Regions from separate parts of the Homo sapiens genome. Here all the other regions are linked to region 3. Evidence: promoter capture Hi-C in 16 types of primary human blood cells and fetal thymus (Javierre and others, 2016). All regions are on one chromosome and are shown on one strand. Each heading gives the region's core, a stretch centred on a gene start or on the middle of the fragment in contact. The rest is flanking DNA. Distances are from core to core; before and after follow the strand shown. Region 1 has its middle 15 kb from the start of LINC02944. Region 2 overlaps FAM204A (family with sequence similarity 204 member A). Region 3 holds the start of SLC18A2 (solute carrier family 18 member A2).

Region 1 (4,244 bases), core at 121-2,620, 1.0 Mb after region 3:
TACAGGTAAGCTTTGAGCTGTTACACTTTGTTTATGAGGTAAAACCTTAGTCCCAGTTAATTGGACACGACTGAGGATTAAGAATGGCACACTGGGGAGGGGAGGGGAGACAGGCAGTGAAAGGGAAACTGATAGGGAAGGACAAGGGGCCTAGAATGGATTAAGCACTTACTATTTATTAGGCATTAGGCATCGTGCTAGTCCCTTTATATATTTGTTGTTTCTAAGTCCCCATAAGAACATTGAAAGATGGATGTAATTATCCCCATCTATAGATGAAGAAACTGAGGCTAAAGAGGTTGAGTAACTTGTTGTTGGTCACATTTCTAGGAAATGGCAGTGCTGGCATTTCCACACAGCATTGCCTGGCTCCATGTGCATGCCTGGCACCATGTGCACGCCTTCCATGGTGCCATGAGGACACTCCAAAGACAGAGGCGCCTCATGTTTCTGCCTGTGGTCTAGCCTCTCGCTTGGGGGAGCCAGGACTGGGATTGTGGGGACTGTTGACTGGCTCCGAGGGAGTGTCCAGAGACGGGCTGGGTGTTTCATTTCCTCCCTCAAGTCCCCATTCACCACTCCAAAGCAACCCCATGTAGGTTCAACATCAGGAAAAATAGCTTAAGTTTGCCGAGCAAGCACAAACTCCAAGCTCTAAACACGCCTTCTAACTAGACTGCCAACTCTCAGCCCCTCCTTAATGGAAAACTGGGAGCCTCCTTCAATTTACAAAGTTTTATGTTAATGTCTCTCAGACCAAATGCTCCCTGAGTGTAGGAATTGTGTCTGCTCAACTTTGGGCTGCATCTGGTTGACTACACATGCTATGTGACCTGTAATAACTTCTCAACAAATATCAGTGAAATGAATGAAGACAAATCTGTGCCTTCTTCAGTTTCCAACAGAAAAAGCCTGAATTATTACTTGGGGGCCTTCCAGGGTCCTCCCCTCAAGAGCTCCTTTCTCCAAAGACAGAAATGTCCTTGCATCTCTCAATAGCTTCTAGGGCATCTGTACATGCCTGAGCCAAGCAAGGCTTCTGACATCCTCAGGACACAGCGAACTGCCATCGCATGCCAAATGTAATGCTCCCCCAGCAAAGAAAGAAAGAGACAGAGAGAGAAGTATAGGCCCAAAGAGAGATAATGGCAAATGTATTTGTAAAAAAAAAAACAAACTGATTTGGTATGTTCTTGAAGCGTGGTGAGAGAGTGTCTTTCGTTTTCAAGAAAGGTCTGGGTAAAAGAACTCAGAGGATCCCCAAAGGCCTGGGACTGAAGGGGGGCTGTCCATAATTTATCGCTTATCTGACTAAGAGCTGTCTTGGACAGATTGAAGTCATTAGCCGGGCAGGCTTAGGCGGGAGGAACCTCTAAGGTGCCTGGCACAGCGAGCCCGGAAGGAGCAAGCACCAGCATGGTCAGATCCTAAATCTCTGAAATAAAATTACCAGGGCAGAAAAATTCAGCACATCCAGTCCCGTCCTTCCCTCCCACCTCCTTGGAGCAACATGTGCCCTTTTTTAAATATGGCACTGATAAAAATCACATCCATTTACTGCAATGTCTCTTCCATAGTCGCAAAAGAAAGGCCTTTATCATCCCCTGAATTAGATCTGTGATTTTTTTGAATGACGTGTATAATAATTAGACTGTAAAGATGTGCAGTTAATCCATTTAAAGGTGTAAAGAAGTCCATTTAATGAACATTATAGTCACATTAGACTTGGAAACATCCAACTCTTTTGTTGAATAAAAAGAAGTTCAATGAGATTAACTTCTCTTAGTTGGTTTTAAAGAATAATCAAACATGTCTTCTTCTGATAGTGTTCTGCGCCTTCTCGCATGGATTCTGCATACCAATGTCTTGCAGCCCAGAAGGGTAAGAATAAGGCCGCTGGACCTCACATTGCAGTTAAATAATTACAAATTAAAGAGGATCACTCCTACTTCCTATGCTCACTATAAAGTGATAAGAGGCTGAACTCCTTGAACTTGTAATTATATAACAGAAATGTTAATCTTCTGGTTGGTATTCTCTCCTGCTGCATTAAATGTATTCTTACGATTATCAAGTTTACCACTTGACACATAGATATCCCTACTGGGATTCCTATTTCTTGATTCTATCAGATTTTGACCACAAATGGGGTAATGGAGTCTGTTTTGAAATCTCACGCTCTTTCGTGTCTCTGTGTGAGGCTTCCCGTGAAGGCTGCTGAACTAAAACAAGTGCCCAGTATAGATGGTATCTGCTCTGACTTAGAATGGGTTAGAACCCAGATGTCCTGGCTTGCTCCTGGTGCTACTTAAAACAACCAGAGTTTAAGGCAGATGTGGACAAATTGGGAGTAATCCCGCATGACTTAAAACAACCAGAGTTTAAGGCAGACATGGACACATTTGGAGTCATCCCACATATGATGGAAAAGAAAATGCTAAATACAAGTTGCTAGACCAGCTGTACCTTGCCGCTGAGAATTCCCATTGTGTTCATGGAGTTTCCCAAGTCAGCCCTGAGAGGTAGGAACGGTCAGATTCAATCCATTAGTCTCCATCTTCTCCCTCAGATCTCTGACTTTACAACCCTCATTTTAGCTGAGGAATATATATTTTAATTTTCCTTATGCGTTTACTCCCTCTCCTGTCTATACTTACAAAGAATTTAAGACCAAGCAAGCAAACAACTTACGGGAATAGATTTCCTTTTCCAAAAATAAGCAAGGGAAAGAAAGCTTCCATAGTAAGGAAGGGCGAGCCTAGGAAGAGCTGGCGTAAATGTGGAATTAGAGTGTTAGCCTGGGAAGAGAGTGTCAGCTCTGCATCCTGTCTCTTAGCTTTGTGCCTAATGCCTCCTGCTAACTGGTGACAGTGATGGATGACGATAGAGATTGTCTAAGCCAAACTGCTAACCAGTACTGTGTTAGATCTTTTTGTAGTTTAGGAAACAAAGCTGATAAGATCAAGAGGCAACATAATCCTGGCTAATGTAGTGTGATCTGTCTTGTATAGCATAATTGGGCATTAAGCAGACATCAAACCTTAAACCAGCCATGATATTTGTAGGAGCAGAAAGGAAACTTACTTCAGCTAAAAAGAAGTTTGATTTTTAAAATAATAATAATGTGATGTGCCTTCCAGAGGGAGGAGGCTGGCCATGGCAGTGTCTAATCCTGGTCAACTTAGCCTGGAGACGCATTTCATGTTTGCACTTCTGTCTTGCTCTGGCTCATTAAAATCCTCAGAGATGAACGTCCAAGAAGGATGAAACTGGGAGAACTTGTTCCAAAATTTAACAATTAGATCACTGCCTTTTGAAACTCCCAAACATGAGCCCTCAAAAAGGACCAAGAGGACTAATGCCTTGGGCCTTCAAATGCCCTCGGAAAGGAGGTGGAGGAACATTATGTTTTGTTTTTGTAGTTATCACTCTTCTTTTTCCTGAGGTTATTTTAGTTATGCGTTCATAGCACATAGACCTTTACTAGGTAAGACCAGCAAGCAATGTGTTCATGGTATGCAAGTGAGCTAAAAGGGCAAAAGCGGAGGAAACCTTCCCTGCGATTCTGGAACCGATGTCTGAGCGCAAAAGACAACGTGTTCTTTCTGATATCTGTCTGGGTTTCTTTGTGTAGAAACTGATTTAGAGGTCAGGGCAGTTCTGGGATATTCATCCTGGCTAAAGTTTGCTAATATCACCAAGTTCACAGCTATTCAGTAACTGCTTTTAATCAACTTGAAATTTAAAATTACAGGTCAGTAAGGAATATCTATAAGATCCTTTTAAAAATGCATACACAGTAGAATCTATTCATATGCAGAAAATGTGTCAAATGGTTTTATCTCAGACAGCTACTAAGCAACAAGTCTTTTCCCCTCGTCACTGAAAGGATCATTTAAATGTGAATACATTTTTGGGTTACGTTATTAAATTTTGTTCAGATTGCACAAATAATTACAATACATGGTTCAGATTGGAAATTGCTCTAGATATTCCTCTATGGGATAAAAAACTTATGAAAATTAAACAAATGCAGAAGAAAGTAAAAATAGTTTGTCAATATGCTGTCCCTAACTTGCCCAGAGATAATTATCATTGCCTATAAATACATGTTTGAGGTTTGCTTGAATACGTTTTTGTAAAAAAGAGAAAAGTTATTATCTTGAAAGGAACTAAGTAGCGCCTAGAAATCACTATCATGGTCTGGAGTGAACTAATCACTTTATCCTCATCCCTGAACACAT
Region 2 (4,292 bases), core at 97-2,596, 1.1 Mb after region 3:
GCAATTAAAAAGCTATGCTTTTTAATCTCTGGTCACATTTACCATTTTCCTAATGTTCCCTGTGCCTCTGATGTGCTTCTCTTTGAAAAATATTAATCATCCCTTTAGGCTCACGTCGAATGTTACCTTCTCTATCTACGCAGAGCTCCTCAGCCCTACATTCCTATGACCCCATCACCCTCCCCAAACCCCACACCAGGCTCTCCACTCTGTGCTGTTGCTGTACCTTGTGTCCCTTCAGCACCTAACTTGTCTGACACACTACAGTGAGTTGTGTATTCTCCCCTCTTGAGTCCTATACTCAGTGAGAGCAGGCTGTGTGTCACCGGCTTGGTGTGTCCCAGAATCCAGCCCAGTTCCTTCTACATAGAAGACATTTGTTCAGTCTGTGCTACTGAGCTGATATTCACACTGCCGTCATCCATGTTTGCATTCATAGTGAAAGGACCCCACTCAAACTGGGAACATTTATTACATACCAACTACTCTGAGAAGCTTCCAGAGAATTCACAACTGTAATATTGAAGTAATAATGCCCCTATGGTTAAAAAAAGGTACACGTATTGTACTCATTTATATATACATCTATCCTGGTACTAGAATATATACATTCCTCAAGGGCATGGAGAGTATCTTCTCCATCTTGGGCTCCCAGAGCTTAAAATAGTACCTGCACCTAGAACTTTATTTAATTTTTACTGAAAATAGTTATTTTCTTTAAAAAATGTAAATACAACAGCCTCATTTTCCTGTGCAGAATATTAACCATCGCCTCAAATGTCACTGACACATATTTGTATGTGTCAAAATCTATTTGTATAAAACATTAATATCAAACTACAAGTTTCCTTGCACTACAAATTCTTGCATAGCCTGATACCTCAACTCAGAACTTATCCAATCTCACGCAGGGAAGCAATCAAACTAGACCTGCTCCAACCATTCATCTCAACAACCTGCTCACTAACAGCTTCCATTCTTTTGCCTGTCCATTCCCCCAGCCATTAAGATCATAATCTAAAGGTAATAGCATATTACAGTGGAAAGAGCACAGGACTAGAAGACAGGAGATGTGGTCAAAGCTCTGGGTAAATGACATACTTGACTCATAAGCCTCTGTTTCCTCAAAGATAATAAGAAGACTGGCTTGAATGAGTAACCCTCCTAGAAATAAAAATTCTAGGTTTCTATCACATTTTCAGCTTTGTTTTTAGCCCTTTTCTCTTTCTGACAATTTATTTAAATAAAATGTACTACCTTCTTTTAGCTCTGAAAAACTCCTGGTTCCATGTACACCCAAACTTTGTTTCCATAAGAACTTATTAATATTCCAAATACACTCAAAACACTTAGTAAAACATTCCCATCTCCTTAAAGACTGTAAGTTCACAGCAGCTCACAAAGAGCACAGCTGGCAGGATCAGACCTAGGTTCAGACTAGCTCCTCCACTTATGAACTAAGCAACCCTGAGTGAGTTTCTAAACCTCTGTGGGTTGCAGTTATCTTACACATGCAATAAAATGAGAATAAAACCACATTCTCTGCAAGATTATGATGAGTCAAAGAACATATATATAGAATACCTAGCCACGTTTTTAGAATATAGTAGTCATTCAATAAATAATAAGGTGCTCCTATTATTAAACCTAAATATCAGGATACCATTATTGCAAAAGAGAAGGCTTATCTCTATAAGGCTACAGACTGCATTATACTTCTTCAAGCTCAGACCCAAGTACAAGACCCAAGCATTCCACTTTGTCAGTAAGCAATCTCATGAAATAGAGTCTGAGTATTAAGGCTTTTTGAAAAGTTTTAAGCTGGACTCAAGAGTAGCCTTTATTTGACTTATCTAGAATGTCTTCCATACTATAGGAGTGGCAGGAGGCACAGAGGAGCTACTGATAGCCTGCAGCACCTTGGTGTGCTTCTAAGTTGCCTTTTGGCTAGAATCAAAACATAATTTATGATATATCTCAACACAGACAAACCTAGGAATGGCAATTTGGCCACAGGTGAAAAATTTATCTAAACGAAGTATCTAACCCACGAGGCAACAATTGCCAATTAATTAAGTTTTAATATAGATGTCAAGAAGACAGGACTACAAATATCTAAGAAATGTATGGGTACTTGGTTTAACATTGTGGGCTAACATCTATATGTGCATATGTAGAATATCTTTTATATGTGGTTAAAGCTTTTAAAGTCAAACTATACCACAATATATTTATATGAAAATTCTGCTATTAAATATTTATTCTGTTAATATATTCAATTTTTAAAGCTTAACACAAATGAATTATCCATTGAAGTTTGCATTACTGAACCTAAATATCTAGGAAAAAATGAGGCAATCTCTTCATAAAGAAAGGCAGTGGAGGGGCGGAAGAGGTACTTTCATACATAAATGTAAATCATATATTTATTCATAATTTTGTTACCTTTATATATATATATATATATATAATCATACCCACTTAAAATCAATTGAGTCGGCTGGGTGTGATGGCTCATGCCTATAATTCCAGCACTTTGGGAGGCCAAGGCAGGCGGATCACAAGGTCAGGAGTTTGAGACCAGCCTGGCCAATATGGTGAATCCCCATCTCTACTAAAAATACAAAAATTAGCTGGGCATGATGGCGCACACCTCTAGTCCCAGCTACAGGAAGCTGAGGTAGAAGAATGGTTTGCACCTGGGAAGTGGAGGATGCAGTGAGCTGAGATTGCACCACTGCATTCCAGCCTGGGCAACAGAGCAAGACTCTGTTTCAGAAAAAAAAAAAAAAAATCATATGAGTCAGGTAAATAAAAACCAGGTTCAGAAAAAATCTAGATTTGGGACCAAATGACTTGGGTTTAAAGTCTCATTTCACTTCTCACCTGGTTTGTTTTCTTAGGCAAATTATGCTGAGCTTCAGTTTCTTTATCTGTATTCTGAGAATAACACTGGACCTATCAACCTACCCCACGGAAATCACACAGGAACCAAGAGGCAATGGTTTACAACTGATACCAGGGGATCTTCATGGTACCACTACAACACTCCCCATACCTCTCTCACCACACCCCTAAACCTCCCTCTCCTATACCTCCTCCCTCCACATCCCTATGCCCCTCCCTCCACATCCTAATGCCCCTCCCTCCACATCCCTATGCCCCTCCCTCCACCCACTCAAGGAAGCCAGCCTTTTAACTGATCTATGTATTGGAGAACCATGTAAGAGTCTGTTTGGAAAAAGCACTCTGCTAAAAACAAACAAACAAACAAACAAAAAAAACCAAGTTCGAAAAAGCTACACTATACAATAGCAGTTTCCTCTCATAAAAAACTTGAAAAATTCATCAAAGACATTGTACAATTACTCTAACATTTAATAAAGTACCTCTGGTTTTTCATGCCAAAAAGTATCCATTAGGTATACATAAAACTACTTCAATAATGACTGCTGACTAATCAAACTGATTCAACTAAAGAATACTTGAGACATTTATAGTGAAATTAATGAGTGAAATTTATTCTAAAGAAATTCCCACAGATTCAAAATAATTATGTTATGATTACAGAATTACTAGTAAGTCCCAGAACTGCTGCCAGAAACACAATTATAGCTGTATTTAATACAAAGAACACTTTAAAACAGCTTTGGATATTAGGAAGATTATGTTTAAAAAATACAAGCCTCTGCATTGTCTGAGAGGCAGGTGACAGCAGTGCTGTAAACAGACATTCTTGGTTGAGCAAGTTTCAGCTTGGCAGTGTTCCAAAAAAGAAAAAGGGGAGGAAAAAAAAGACTGCACGATAGACACATATTAAGAAGTTTGTTTTGTTTTACCATCCTAGAGGGTTGAGTGAATACAAAATAAAAAGGTTCTCTCAGATATGGTAACAGATTAGCCTCTGCTCCAGAGAAACAAAATAGTGGATGGAAATTCATGCTAGTTTTGTTCTAACTGCATCACAGATTTTCAAAATCATCTCTAGATTTCATGAGCAGTCGCTACTATGTGCTGGACTTACATTTATTTAGTTTTTATCTCAGCATCTCCAATGTGGACATTCTTTAAAGTTTATTTACTCTGTTGGATTTGCAGTAGAAACTTTAGGAGGACAGCCAAAGGAGTACCATTTAAACCAACGATCCCAAACCAAAGAATGAGTAGGAACCTGCTGGCATGCAATTATACTGAACTACCAAGAGAACAGGAAACATGCAAGAATCGGGCTTCACTAAGTCCTTCCTTTCCTCTTATGCTTGTGTTTATTTGTAGAATATTAAATGCAGGAA
Region 3 (3,822 bases), core at 550-3,049:
AGCAGGGATTTGTCTAGGCTTTACTGTCTCCCCAGCATTAACCATAGTGCCTGGCACGTAGTAAGAGCTCAACACATATTCAGCGCATGAATGAGGGGCCGGCACTTACGGAGCTCTCACTTTGTGCCAGGCACTGTGCTAAGAGCTGCCTATGCATTCCCCTGGAATTCTCACAACCACGCTGCAGTAGGTCCAGTGAGTATCCCCATTCCAGAGATGGCGAAACTAAGCCACAAAGAGGATACATAACCAGCCCAAGGCCACCAGTCAAGGAAGTAGCAGACTGGGACCTGGGCATCCTGGCAGGCACCCTTTACCATAATGCCTCTCTGTCCCCATGTGGTCCCTGGGGTAGAGTCTGCATCCTTGGGTTCTGAAACTCCAGAGCAAGCACTCTGGGGCACTCCCTGAGTGATACCCTCCTGCCATCTTAAACGGCTCTCTGCCATCTGCTTCCTCCTCCTAAGTGGTTTTCCTTCTGTCCTCCCTGTTTAATGTTTAAGTTGTGCACATCCTGTGACATCCTGGAGACCCATGTTCCTGACCTACTTACCTATTCAACCATCTCTTCTCACACATGGGGTAGCAATGAGAAGCACAGGGGGTCTCTGCAAGGGAGTAGGGAGGTGGAGAGAGCGGGGGCAGCCACACATCACACTGCTGTTCTCAGTGGCCTCCTGCTGTCAACAAGCTAACATTAATAAAACAAGCCCACTCTTCTGCTAAGAGACTGTGACAGGGTAACATTTATTCTAGGTAGCTTTTCAAGAAAACAGCTCTTGCTCCCACGGTCCCCTCGGAGGGCCTGCAGAGCTCCAGCGATGTCAGAGGGCATCTGTTTGTTTCTCCTTTGCTTATAAAAGGGACCTGGAAATCAAAGGCAGGCTCTTAGCCCTTAGCAGTGAGGATGACAGCTCTGCACCAGCCACACGCAGGCCCCTGGCTCTAGGAACCACCTCTCACCCAGACGCCCAGGCACAGCATGGTGGGGAGAGAGTACAGGACACAGGGCCTAGGCCTGCTGCCCCGCCCACAGCCCGCCCCCTAGCCCTTTCTCTGAGGCCAGGTGTACTCACCTAGCCTCCAGGGTCCCCTGCTCAGGTGGCCCCAGAGGCCCAAACCCACTGCTCCCACTTTCTGAGACCTGGGACCCTCACCTCCCCAACTCCCACCATAGGGCGACACTGAAAAGTGTCCCCTTCCCCCCCCCGTTTCCAAGTCACCAGCTTGAGGATGCCCAAGGCTCAAAGGCTCCTCCGAGTGGCACCCCGCATCGGGCTGCAGAGGTCGGAGAGGGGAGGGGATGGTGGGTGCAAAGGGTGGCTTCTTCAGGAAAGGGAAGCCTGTCCCTGGCTCCCAGCACCTGTCACCCCTGGCGATCTCACCCCGCGGCCATCATTCCCGTCCTCACGGCCCATTTCAGGGACACTGAGGCTCAAAGAGCCACGTGATTTATTCAAAGCAGCTCGAGCCACCACTTGGAGCCACAAGAAAGCCCTGGTCCGTGCCTCCTCGCCTTGGTCCCTGGCCCTTCACTCTTCGTCCAGGCTCTCTGACCTCTTTCCCTCTGCGCCCCTGCCTCTTCCCCAGGCCTGGGTCCCCAAGGCACTCGGCCACGCGCTGGGTCCGGGGAAGAGGCGCGGCCGCGGCCGAGGCGGGGACAGGGAGGCGGCAGCCCCTCCTGCGCAGCGACGGCGCGGGCGGGCGGAGGCCGGGGCGCCCCAGCCCCCCGCCCCCGCTCCCTCCGGCCGTGACGTCAGAGCCGGACGGGGTAAACTGAGCGGCGGCGGCGGGGCGCTGGGGCGGAGACTGCGACCCGGAGCCGCCCGGACTGACGGAGCCCACTGCGGTGCGGGCGTTGGCGCGGGCACGGAGGACCCGGGCAGGCATCGCAAGCGACCCCGAGGTAACACGGCCCCGGTTCCCTGCTCGCAGGGCGCGGTGCCGGAGGGGAGCGGGCCCGGGGGAGGCAGGGAGGCAGGGAGGCCCCCAGAGCTACGCGGGCGGGGCTGCGGGGACCCCGGGGCAGCCGGGGCGCAGGGCGCAGGGCGCAAGGTGCACGGGGCCGAGCGTGCAGTTTGGGAGGTGGCACAGTTGGGGGCGGCGGGGATCAGGGCAGCGTCCTGGGGGTTCTAGGTTGGGTCTCCAGATTGGGTCCCCGACGGCGCTCGCGGGCGCTCTTTCCAGGGAGCGCGGGCTCTCGTGGGGACGCGCTCGAGGCAGGTGAGCCGAGGCTGGGGCGCCCGGGGGTGTCCCCGGATGCCGGTGCGCGCGGCTCCCTGACCCGCCCTTCCGCGGCCTGGGGGACGGGAGAATGGGGGGTCCACGGCCGCCTTGGGTCCTCACCGCGCACCGCGCCCGCAGCGGAGCCCCGGAGCCATGGCCCTGAGCGAGCTGGCGCTGGTCCGCTGGCTGCAGGAGAGCCGCCGCTCGCGGAAGCTCATCCTGTTCATCGTGTTCCTGGCGCTGCTGCTGGACAACATGCTGCTCACTGTCGTGGGTACGTGCGGACAGGGCACCCCTGCCCCGGCACCCCAGCCCCAGCGCCCCTTCCCCGGCACTCCACTTACCCCTGCGCGGTCCCGGAGCTCCGCCAAGGCCCGGGAAAGTTGGAGAACTCGCTTTGCAAAAAAGACATCCCCTCCAGGCTGCCGCGCCGGGGCTAGGAGGAGCCGCGTTGTGTGGCTTCGCTTTCCTGATGCTCGGGTCAAAAACTGTGACATCCGATAAGACCCAGAACTTATGTTTCCCCCTGATAATTTCCCGCATCCTCTTGCCTGCTTTCACTGCGATGAAAAAGATTTCTGTTCCAAAAGAGAAATTCCTAAAGTTCAAAATTACGTGTTAGAATAATTATTGGGCTACTCGAAAAGGCAGGTTAGTAATTTGGTGTAGTACCTAAAAGAGCAAGTTTCGATCCCTTACTCCAAAAACAAGACATTTAGATATACTGTATTAGTGAATGACTTGAGATGGAAATATTTCAGGAACCATTGCAAGAACAATTTGAACAATCTTGGTTCTATTATTTTTCCTATAGTGGAATTTTGAAAAATTAAATAATCGAAATCCAGGTCCCTTAATTAGGCCCATTAACAGAGAAGTATTTGGCATGCATTTCCTTAAAAAAAAAAATCCCAGTTTTTAATGAATGAAAAAAAAATCACGACTCATTTAGACTGTAAGTGGTGGGAGCTGTTTCCTTTCTCTCCATTTGCAGGTTTTCTCACAGCAGTTTTCAGAGCATCTGATAGGTTTCATCTCGAGGAGTTATCAGAGCCGTGGAGCTCATCCCTGTTCAGTACCAACGGCATTAGTTCTGCTTCGGCTCGAATGCTCCATTGGACACATGTGCTCACAGCTTCGATTATATGTTTCACAATTTAATTTGTATTTTTTGTTGTTGCTTTTTATTTTGGTTTTTGTTTGTTTTTTTGAAATGGAGTCTCACTCTGTTGCCCAGGCTGGAGGGCAGTGGCACAGTCTTGGCTCACTGCAACCTCCACCTCCCGGGTTCAAGTGATTCTCCTGCATTAGCCTCCCGAGTAGCTGGGTTACCGGCATGCCCCACCAAAGCTGGCTAATTTTTGTATTTTTATTAGAGACAGGATTTTGCCATGTTGGCCAGGCTGGTCTTGAACTCCTGACCTCAGGTGATCTACCCGCCTCGACCTCCCAAAATGCTGGGATTACAGGCCTGAGCCACCGTGCCTGGCCTGTTTCAGTTTTGCTTTTTCCTTGTGAAAGCCTTAGGAATTCTTAAATCTTACAAGTTGTAGGAAAAATTACAGATTCCCACTCATAATAGAAGGATGAAGTGGG

The links. The method cuts DNA at HindIII sites, captures the fragments that hold promoters and counts their contacts. A CHiCAGO score of 5 or more calls a contact.
Region 1: a contact is called between a fragment that was not itself captured here and the fragment with the promoter of SLC18A2 in region 3, in 2 of 17 cell types (total B cells and naive B cells). The highest score is 7.9, in total B cells.
Region 2: a contact is called between a fragment that was not itself captured here and the fragment with the promoter of SLC18A2 in region 3, in 1 of 17 cell types (megakaryocytes). The highest score is 6.4, in megakaryocytes.

What each region holds. Positions count from the first base shown.
Region 1 is chr10:118,254,149-118,258,392 of GRCh38, forward strand. No RefSeq gene overlaps it. Among named protein-coding and RNA genes, the nearest start is that of LINC02944, 15 kb to the left of the region's middle. The HindIII fragment of the contact is 2,724 bases long and covers 9-2,732 here.
Region 2 is chr10:118,329,396-118,333,687 of GRCh38, forward strand. The region is part of intron 6 of FAM204A (family with sequence similarity 204 member A); the gene reads right to left. Among named protein-coding and RNA genes, the nearest start is that of FAM204A, 11 kb to the right of the region's middle. The HindIII fragment of the contact is 1,706 bases long and covers 494-2,199 here.
Region 3 is chr10:117,239,315-117,243,136 of GRCh38, forward strand. It overlaps SLC18A2 (solute carrier family 18 member A2), which reads left to right and starts at 1,800. Exons shown (of 16, transcript NM_003054.6): 1 at 1,800-1,906; 2 at 2,365-2,500. The coding sequence starts at 2,380. It overlaps SLC18A2-AS1 (SLC18A2 antisense RNA 1), which reads right to left and starts at 2,683. Exons shown (of 3, transcript NR_184310.1): 1 at 2,571-2,683; 2 at 2,347-2,469; 3 at 1-867. The HindIII fragment of the contact is 8,499 bases long and covers 1-3,822 here.